Linked DNA regions of Homo sapiens: regions 2 and 3 are each linked to region 1. Evidence: promoter capture Hi-C in 16 types of primary human blood cells and fetal thymus (Javierre and others, 2016). All regions are on one chromosome and are shown on one strand. The core of a region is centred on a gene start or on the middle of the fragment in contact, and the rest is flanking DNA. Distances in the headings are between cores, read along the strand shown.

Region 1 (3,124 bases), core at 522-3,021:
AACATTCTCCAAGCCTGCTGGTGGGTCCAAAGCTGGTCTGTCTTATCCATGGACCCATTCTCTGGAATTCAAGAGGTGCTGCAAAAATGCTGCCTCAAATAGCTCTGCCTGTGGCCCTATATCCCCTATTTGAGATTAGTTCACTTAGGTGCAAACATTAGAGGCTGATATTAGAGTGTGTTACCTTGTAGAGATGATGTTCTTTAACTCAGTGCAATCATCAGATTTAAAAGGTCTCCAAGAAGGTCATTATTTCAAACTTGAGAATCTCTCATGAGAAGCTCTACTGTTCTTTCTATCTACTGCCAGCATCTTTTAAGTATTAACTCACTTACTTCTCATTACAGTGTGGGAGGTATTATGAGGAAACTGAGGCACAGAGAATTTAAGTAACATGTGGATGTTAGTGAGTGAGTGGCTGCAGTTTGGAGCTTGAGCACCATGTTCCAGTGTGTGCTCATCACCAGGCTTCCTTCTGGAAGGGAGAGACAGAGTCGGAGTCTGGAAAACAGCAAGGGAGGGTCTGGATCAGGGGACTGTGAGCAGGCCAGGTGTTGTGAGAGCTGACCGAGGACATGGCCTAGAGGCTGATTATGGAGATTGTGAAAATTGCTATGGAAAAGAAATTTCCAGAACCCAGATTTTGGCTACTTTTGAAAGCATTTTTGAGGTAATACTGTCCTCTAGTGGCTAGATAGCAGGTAGGGATTACCCTCCAAATAAATAGCCAATGAGCCTTGAGTGGAGATGGTATGACAAGTCAGTGGTAAATTCATCATTTTGCTCTCTAACTACAGGTTCTAAAGGAAAGGCAAACCCCACTGCTATGGTCATCGGTACAGCTCAGGATTTCGGCCTCCTCTGCTCCGTGTGTTGGCTACAGGCTAGGTTCAAATCCCAATTCTGCTCTTTACTGCTGAAAGGCTTTGGGCATGTTCGTTAATCTCATTTTCTCTTCTGAAAAAGAGACAATCTTGAAAAGATTGACCTTCCGTGAAGATCAAATGAAGTAATGCGTGTAGTGTGTCTGGCACGTCGTAAGCGCATCACACACGTGAGCTGTGGCAATACTAAGGAGCAGTGGCAAGAGCTGGGGGAGGAGTGGAGACGAACAGACCTGGACAAATTAGTGACCTTTCTGGGACCCCTACAGAACTCTTCTGGAGAAATTAATTCTATTTTTCCATGTACTTTTAAGTTTGCTTTTCCTAGCATTTCTTCTACATTCCTGAATAATTTTCCACTCAAAAATTTCACTGGTTCTCCCTGACTCCCATATTAATCTAGACATAATTACTTCCCCAGAACAGTTCTGTGGGCAGGGAGGGCTCTACACTATGCACCCTCCAAAATCCCCAAAGCTCGGACCGTCCTGGCCTGGGTCCCCACTGCTGTCCTGCCCATGGGCTCCCAGGCTGTGCTTGCTCTTCTCCCACCCCAACCCCATCACCACAAAAAGCCCCTCCTCCAACCCGGGGACTTTTGTAATTTCCTACCTGAAATCATCCACTCCCTACCTCTAACAATCTGTGATGAGCAGAGGACAACATCAAGTTTGAATTTAGAGGTAGGGAATGGGTGATTTCAGGTAGGAAATTACAACTTCACTTTGAAGTTTAATTTTGTAATAAACTTCACTTAATTTTGAAGTAAATTTGCAAAGTCAGCAAAATTCTTTCAAAGTCAACCTTGCTCTGGCCTAGTTGCTTATTTACTGCTAAGCTGGATGTTTTCATTAAAAGATTAACTTTGAGACTTCAGCCTCTTCTTTAGCCTGAACTGTGGGTAGTGATGTGGTGTGTTTCCTAACACCTCCGGCAGTGAGCCAGGCTTTGAGTGGCTGCGTCTAAACACTTCTTTCCCTGAGGACTGGAAGACATTAGAATAAGGTTTGTCATTGAGTGTGTTCTGTGTGCTTGGAACTGAGAAGGGTGATGAAGTGCCAGATAGGATGGGAATGGAAGATATCGTGGAAGCCAACTATGAGTTTGCAAGGCAAGGACCTTGGCAAAGATGGTCCTAGGGAGACAGGTGTTAGGGAACTCAGAGGGCATGGGCAAAGGAAGATTTGGTTTCAAAAAGGATACAGACAGAGAAGGTTAAGTCTAGGAAGTTGAGTCTTAGAATTGTATGGTGGAATATTCGTGGGTGTCCATAGGAGGAAAAATGGGTTAAAATGTTTTCACTTGACAGCGTTCTGAAAACCTAAAAGGTATTGCTATTGCCTTCAGGGATATATTTAGTATTCTGACCACTGCTTCCCGGCCACAAGCAAAAGAAAACAGTGACATGGCTATGCTCCTAAAAAAGTAAAGAAGTTAATGTGTCTCAAACAATGTAGTTCCTTTGAGCAATAAGCTTATTTGGAACAAATGGGTTACAAAGTCCCACTAATGAAGAGCCTCTGATTGTGTTAAGTTGAATCTACAGATCAACCTGCGGAGAACTGCCAAGAACGCTAATGAAGACAGGGAGGTACTGGTATAAAGATAGATAACAGATCAATGGAACAGAATAAAGCGTCCATTAGCAGGAAGCAAAATCCGCAAACTTTTATTCTTAACTACTACTATATTCTGCATTTTACAAGATCCTTCAATTCTCACAAGATCCCTATGAGATAGACAGTAATAACCTAATTTAAAGATAGATGAGAATTGGAGCTTGTCTAGAATAGATTGAGTGGAACATCACTTGTGGTATATCATTTGAGAGGTAATGGGAATATTGCCAAATTCCCAGGTAACTCTCCCCTCAAAGGGACTCCTGTTGTACTCTAAATCGTATCAGCTATCAAATGATGAGCTATGAAAGTCTGTCTTCTTCGACTGTAAGCTTCTTGAGAGCAGAAACTGATGTGATAAAGGTCCCCCCCCATATCTCTAGTGTTTAGCATAATACTTTGATATATTATGTTAAATCAGGCTATGTTATAGTAAAGAATAAACCTTAACAACTTAGTGAGATAACACATAAATATTTATTTCTTCCTTACACAATATCAGCTGATCTCCAGGGCTACCCTTTTCCAAATGGCGTTTTGGGAATCCAAGTGGCCTTTCTCTTACAGCTTTGCCTTCTTGAGGATGGAGGATCGCTGTAGAGGAGGAAACAAAGCTGGAGG
Region 2 (3,517 bases), core at 859-3,358, 1.2 Mb before region 1:
TAAAGATATCAGTGAGCACTGGCTTCTATGCACAGTATAAAGAAATTTTCACAACACTGGCATCTTTTAAGTTTTAAAATGTAATAGTAAGGAAATCATCTTATTAAAATCTACTTTAAGCATGTTTTGTGAATGCATCAGTCTGAAAAGGGAGGAAGGATTATGTCATACTGAGGGAAAGGCCCTATATTGCATTTCTGTCCGCTTTCAAATACACATTCTCAGAAAACGTCCAACAAAAGTTTTACCATTTGGTTGACAAAAATGAATATAAGGAAAGGATATGAGAAAAAAGAAAGCACTTGAAGTCAGACAGTAGGAAGCAAAGGAAAACGTTAAGAAAAGACTCATTCAAAAACAAAATTTCAGCCAATGCACAAGTCTATCAGCAGAACAAATAATGCTTCTAAAGGTGGTGGTGTAGGCTGGTTTCTCTGTCTCGCTCCACTTCTGAATGAATCTGTTCAGGTCTTCTGCCATTTCCTTTATGGGAGCCAACTGTTTCTAACTCTGCCCACCCAAATAACAGCTTTATTGGCTCTTTCTTATATTTCAACTATATTAAACAAAACTTCATTGTCTGTTATGCTTTGATTTTTGTGCTTTACTTTTTGTTTTGTAAATAGCAGTACCTTCTTTATGCTCCCATGGTTCTTTCTTTCTTTCTGTCTGTCTTTCTTTCTTTCTTAAAGCTGGTTAGTTATAATCTTTAGGCTTCTATTTTTGTTCAAAATCAAGTTACACAATTTGCCAATAATCCACATTTTAAAACTTTTATGATTATTTTTGAATAACTGTATGCACTTCACCTGAGCCGGCTGTCTTAATCCTTTAGAGTGTGGCTATTTTCCACTATTATACTTTTGGGTAATAACCATTGCCAATTTTATCCCACTAAGTAAATTCCTCATTTTATGGAAATTGTTTTTATAAAGCTTAAGTTACTCACATTTATACCCATAATCTCTTCTCCCTCCCTGTTCAGTCTGGTAGTCGTTTGAAACCCTATTAAGCTATTTGTTATCACAGTTTCTAAAACTCCTCCTGATATTAGCTGTTCAACTTGTCATATACTCCTTCTTCAACACAGGAGGCTAATTAAAAATTGGAGAATCCAATCACAGGGCTGAGAGGCACTTTCACAGGGCATCTTGTGCTAAGAGAACAACATTCTTTCTCCTGGGTTCAATTCCCTTCACCGCTCCTTGTAGGCTGTTTGATGACCTTGAGCAAATTATTTAACCCCTCTTTGCTTCACTTTTTTGTTTTGTTTTTAAAAATGAAATGGGAATAATTATGTTTGCATTGTAGGACTGTTGTGAAGGTGAAAGTCGTAGCTATCAATGATTAGAACAGTTCATAGCACATACTATGCCCTTGATAAATGTTAGCTAATATTTTAAACATTAATGTTTTATTTTAGAATAGTTGTAGTTTTACAGTAAAGTTTCAAAGATAGTGCAGAGGGTTTGCATGTATCCGCATCCAGTTTCCCCTATTGGTAACATCTTAAATTAAGTATGGTATATTTGTTGCAACAATGAACTAATATTAATATGCTAACGAATAGTTTTAACCCAATGTCCTTTTTCTGTTCCAGGAGCCCACCCAGGATACTACATTACATTCAGATGTCATGTCTCCTTAGGCTCCTGCAGACTGACAATTTCTCAAACTTTGTTTTTGATGACTTTGACAATTTTGAGGTGGTATGATAATTTGTGAAGTGTTTCTCATGCTTAGCCTGGAGTTACAAGGTTGGAGAAAAAGACCAAAGATGTGAAGTGCCATTCTCATCACATCATGTCAAGGGTACATGCTGTTAACATGAATTAACATCGATGATGTTAACCTTGATGTCCTGGCTGAGGTAGTTTATTAGGCTTTTTCTCTACAAAGTTACTCCCCTCCCCGTACCTTTCCTTACTGTGTTTTTGGGAAGGAAGTCACTACGTGCAGCTCACCCTTAAAGTATGGGAAGTTACACTCCAACATGCTTTAGGGGGGTAGTATCTATTCCTACATAAATAACTTGAAATTTTTCTGTATGGGAAATTTTCTACCTCATTAATTTATTTATTCAGTCATTTGCTTACCTCAGTAATGACTCATGAATGTTTATCCTTTGGGTTGTATTCCCAATGTACTATAATATTTATTTACTTTATTGTTCAGTCAGTTGCCCTAGCTTTGATATTTGCGAGGTCTTTTAATTGGCTCTGCGTCTCCTTAATATACCCCTTTATTGGATTTTTTTTCTTTATTTTCTGGCACTACAGATGCTTCAGCCTCATTCATCTTGCATATTACCTGACCCTGTCCTAGAAGCAGCCAGTTTTCCAAGGAGCCCTGGTTCTCTTTCCTGGAGAATGGTTGAACATGCTGATTGCTACTGGAGTATCTTTTGTTTCTAGGCCCTCTCAGTGGACTGATTTAAGAAATAACCCATGTATACACACACATATATATATATACACAAAATTACTTCTTTATCTATTTCTGTCTATATTAAGGTAAACACGAGTTCACACTGATATTTCCCACTCTAATCCAGTACCACATGTTTCCTTCTAGCCTGCTAATATTTTATTAGCTATTCATTCATTCACTTATTGATTCATTGAACAAATTTTGTTGAGTGTCTATTATATGCCAGGCCCTGTGCTCAGCACTGAGGATTAGAGAGTCTGGCGGATACTATCCCTACTCTCATGTAGCTTAGAATCCAGTTTACATGTTACATTTTTACTTTAGTTCTTTGGTACTACCAAGGAATGACATCAATCACAACAGCCTATTTCCATATCTCTCTGCATTTTCCCACCATAGTCCATTCTCCCACTTCCAAGATGGCACTACTTTCTATTAATCATTCGTTTTCCTCTCTACCCTCATTTCTCCTCTGTCAGCTCTTTGCCCTGTGGGGTTTTCACCTTTCGTTAAAACACTCCAGCAGAAGAGTGGCTTAGTGCTAAATAAGAGTAGTGTTAGTGTACCTCCCAGTTGTGTTGCACATTTGAAAGGTCTTTCACATCTCATTTTTGAGTATAGGATTATGTAAAGAATCATACGGTATTACCAAGGTGCTTTGTTTAGGGTGGCATCTTATGATTGCCACTCACATGTAAATTCATATGGGATTTGTTATCACCTACTGCTATCTCGAATTGGAGGACCTGTGTTATTCTCTTATGAAGACAATCTCTATTGATGCAAAACTGTAAAGTACCTCTGATTTTAATGCTTCTCTTTTCTGTTTACTGAAAAGATTTTCATGCTTTTAAAGCTTTAATGATTTTAATACTTTTCTTTGCTGTTCATTGAAAATCTATCATTATATCTCTTTCACTCTGAAGGTCATTATATTTGCCTTCTTTTTTCTTGAGTAAATGTTCTAGAAATTTGTCAATGTTACTAGTCTTTCAAATAACAACTTTGGGCTTGTTTGATCCTCTCTATTGCGTGTTTGTTTTCTGTTTCATTATGTTTTGCCCTTTTTAATTTCCTTACTTTTATT
Region 3 (3,535 bases), core at 1,010-3,509, 1.2 Mb before region 1:
AGCACCTAGCAATAATCCTAGCCATCCTTAAAGATATTATTTTGGGGGGCTTCTGCTCTTGTTGGTCATTAGAACAAACATGGCTAGTCCATGCAAGCTGCTTCATGTGTGAAGAACTTATGGGAGACCCAGGGAAAAAAAATCAATCAGAATATCAACAGTTGCATCACAAAAAGGCAAATATGAGTTTGAACAAGAGTTTGTATAATAATTTTCTCTTGGATAATAATAAACTTGTTAACTGACGTGTTTCTAAAGTATTTTGGGTCCTTGGAAGAGAGGGCCAGAATCATGAACATATTATGTTTAAAATTCTAAAGGAATGTATAATAATTTTTTCAGAGCCATGGAAGAGAATGTGAGTGTGGCAGGAGAAATCTTCAAGTCATTTTGTGCCCTGTGCAAGTCTGCCAGAGACATTAACCTATCACCAACCATAGAAACAAACCAATTATCAATTAGAGTCAAATGAGAAGACACTGAGTTTTAGATTTTGTGCACTGGCTGACTATGAAGATGATCACCTCTGAGGTGGCCATACAGAGGACTAGGGGAAGAAAGCAGCCTCAGGCTACTTTTCATTAGAGATGTGGATCTGCTTACTTGGCTTAAAAAATATGAAAATGAATCAGTTGTTTGCTGGTTGAACTGCAAATATTAATCTGATCAATTTTGGGCATCAAGGTCTAAAACATGGATGTCATGCAGCGCTAGTTCTTAAAATAAAAACAAAAGAAATAAATTGAAGTTTATTTTTGATAGGGAGCCTTAGTGCAATAAGACACGTTTCCTGGCCTGCCGCTATATTCTGGCTTCACAGGGCTCATTACAGACCTTAGCAGAATCTACTAACTCCTTCTCCTAGGTATTACCTGCTATTCAGCTCAGAGTCTTAAGAGTTGATTTGATTATAGATATATATATACACACCCAGAGGCTTTAGTGCTAGGACCATTTTGAAGTATTTCTTCTAATATCTGCATTTCCAAAAAGGAATCCCAGTGACTCCTGGACTAACTCAAAGTGATGCCCTGCTAATGGCGGTATTTAAGGCTGTGGACTGGTCCAGTGGAAAAGGCTCCCCTAGAATTATACCAGAACAGACCCCTAGACAACTTCCTGCTTCACCCATGTGCCTAGCATATAGAAGCATTCAATAAATGTTTCTTGAACTTAGCAGCCAAAACCACACACTAAAGAGAACTTTTACACATGCTTAGCATGGGAGGGCTGACTGAGTATGTGGCATTTTATCAGCCAAACTCAGCACTTTGGAAGGAGTCATGCCTCTGAATCACCCAGAATTTGAATTAGAGAAAGAGCGCATTCCTTTGATGTTTAGACAACACTGTACATGGCTTATATTCACTGATGAAAACACAGTAGTCTAGAAACAGCTTTACTGTGCATGTATACACTGTCTGGCTGGTTTTCCTTGTCTTCATAAATATTAAATGTGACTAATTAAAATTATTGAAGTTCTGGTGTAGGTATGCAGAGAGGTTTGGGTAGTGTCAAATTCTGCCTCTGTGGTTTCTTAGCCAAATGACCTTGGGCTTATCTTTGTGACTCAGTTTCTCATTTAAAATTATGAATCTATTAATACAACTTTCAAAAGACTATTGCAGGACCCAAGAATGAATACACTTAGGGTCCTTTTGTAAATTTGTTGAGTACCACATAAATGTAAAATATTAATATATGCAAGGGAAATATTCTAATTTCCTGTAGAAAGTTCTGCAAAAATGGGTTAAAAGAGGTGACTGCTGCAGTAATTTTGAATTTTGAATTTAGATATGTCCTGGGGATCTTCTTTGTACCGTGTAGCCTCTGGCTTAGGCTGTTTGATTGTTTTTCTTTCGTTTTTCACAGAGTTCTTGGCCCATCCCACCAATCTAGCACATGAGCTTAATTCGGTTTTGCTCCATGCATCAGAGAGTTTTAAGACAGCTATTAAAACACCACATGGAAAAGCTTTGCAGGGAATTCTACTCCACAGAGAAACCACAGAGCCACTACACACCTTAACTATCTCCCCACCCCCAACAGTGGGCTGAAATTACGGCTCCATTATGTTAGTACAATCCAACCAGTTTTATGGCTTGGAGCAAAATCTGAGGTTCAAAATGAACTTCAGAACATAAAAAGTAAGGCAAACCTCAAAAGGAAACGAGCTTCTTTGGGTTTTGAAACAAATATTACATATCAGAGACATTCTTCTAACAGAGGAGACCAAGAAAAGCCAAGAGGAGTCCTGCTAATTGCTCCAGAAATGTAAAACTGGAATCAGAGACTCACCCGCCCTAAAAGGAGATCTCTTTTCATCATCATATATTAAAAGCTACAACCTTTCATCAACTCCTTCCTCAAGCACGAGACCTTCTTTGACCTTGATTGAGTTCCTTCAATGTTGCATCACTATCTTCCACATTAAAAAATAAGATATATTTTTAAGACTTAATGTTAGCTCATTACTTACTCTACTGCAGCCCTTTTGCTTTGTTTTTCTATCTTCCTTCCTGTATTGTAAATGTCATTTATACATTAAGCTTTGTGTATGTTTCATGGATTTGTTGTGCCTTGGCACTAGGGCTACCCAGAAGAAACAAAATAACCGACCAATACTCATTCTCATGAGCCATCCATGCTGTTGCTTGGTTAATTCAATCTCATGGACAACTTATTTTCTTACAGTGAATACAAGCGTCTTCATTTATCCCTTGTTTACTACAAAGCCATGGATATAATTTAATTTCTACATCCATCTTGAGTGGGGCATATCCAGGGCTACTTCTACAAACACAAGATTGCCCTGATTACACTAACTCTATCTTATTCTTCCCCAAATTCAATAAAATGTCCAAGCAATGGGAATATTTTGGCAGCCCAATTACATATCTCATAATATCCCTAATATCTGAAAGCAGGATGTGTCTGACCATGTGTTCTGATTTTTAGGTCTACAAATATGGTCTTCAAATGATAGGGTGAGAAAGAAGAGTTAAAGAAAGAGGATCCAGGGAGCAGTGCCAGATCTTCTAGGGAGCTGAGTTTGTATTATGCTAGCAGGGAATGATGGGAATTTCTCCAATAACTCCCTAGGGGTGTGTCAGAAAAACTATGAGACTGTAACTTGAGCAAGAATAGTGTCAGGGAATCTGTGCCCTACCTCAATTCAACAAAAATGAGTAGTCGTGCAGCTCAACAAGCATTTATTACATTAGTATGACTAAATGTATATGATGTAACAAACTAAGGGATACACAAAATGACTAAGATGGGAGTGTGAAAATGAGCAAACAATGCTTGTATCATGAAATAAATTTCTAGAGACTATTTCTTGTAAAGGCTATTTAACATCAGTGGCCCTGACTGGGTTTTACTGAGGGAATTAGTGTCCAGAGCTGGAGCTGTGCAGTAATCCTGACTTCTCCAGCTGCTCAGGACATAGCAATTGTGCTAGGAAAGTAAAAGGCAGTGGAGACCTGTCATAGGGTAAGGAAAATGAGGTCAGACCTTAAACAGACAAGTGGAG

Evidence for each region. Contacts are between HindIII fragments. The CHiCAGO score rates a contact against its expected background, and 5 or more counts as called.
Region 2: a fragment that was not itself captured here is called in contact with the fragment with the promoter of HAO2 in region 1 in 1 of 17 cell types (endothelial precursors); the score reaches 6.6 in endothelial precursors.
Region 3: a fragment that was not itself captured here is called in contact with the fragment with the promoter of HAO2 in region 1 in 5 of 17 cell types (endothelial precursors, M2 macrophages, megakaryocytes and 2 more); the score reaches 17.6 in endothelial precursors.

The regions. Positions count from the first base shown.
Region 1 is chr1:119,367,014-119,370,137 of GRCh38, forward strand. It overlaps HAO2 (hydroxyacid oxidase 2), which reads left to right and starts at 1,772. Exons shown (of 8, transcript NM_016527.4): 1 at 1,772-1,889. HAO2-IT1 (HAO2 intronic transcript 1) reads left to right here and starts at 1,933. Exons shown (of 2, transcript NR_046780.1): 1 at 1,933-1,995; 2 at 3,071-3,124. The HindIII fragment of the contact is 4,151 bases long and covers 1-2,356 here.
Region 2 is chr1:118,194,527-118,198,043 of GRCh38, forward strand. LOC105378930 (a long non-coding RNA gene) reads left to right here. Exons shown (of 4, transcript XR_947746.3): 3 at 1,601-1,870. Among named protein-coding and RNA genes, the nearest start is that of SPAG17, 11 kb to the left of the region's middle. The HindIII fragment of the contact is 2,351 bases long and covers 934-3,284 here.
Region 3 is chr1:118,157,843-118,161,377 of GRCh38, forward strand. All of the region lies in intron 1 of SPAG17 (sperm associated antigen 17), which reads right to left. Among named protein-coding and RNA genes, the nearest start is that of SPAG17, 26 kb to the right of the region's middle. The HindIII fragment of the contact is 575 bases long and covers 1,973-2,547 here.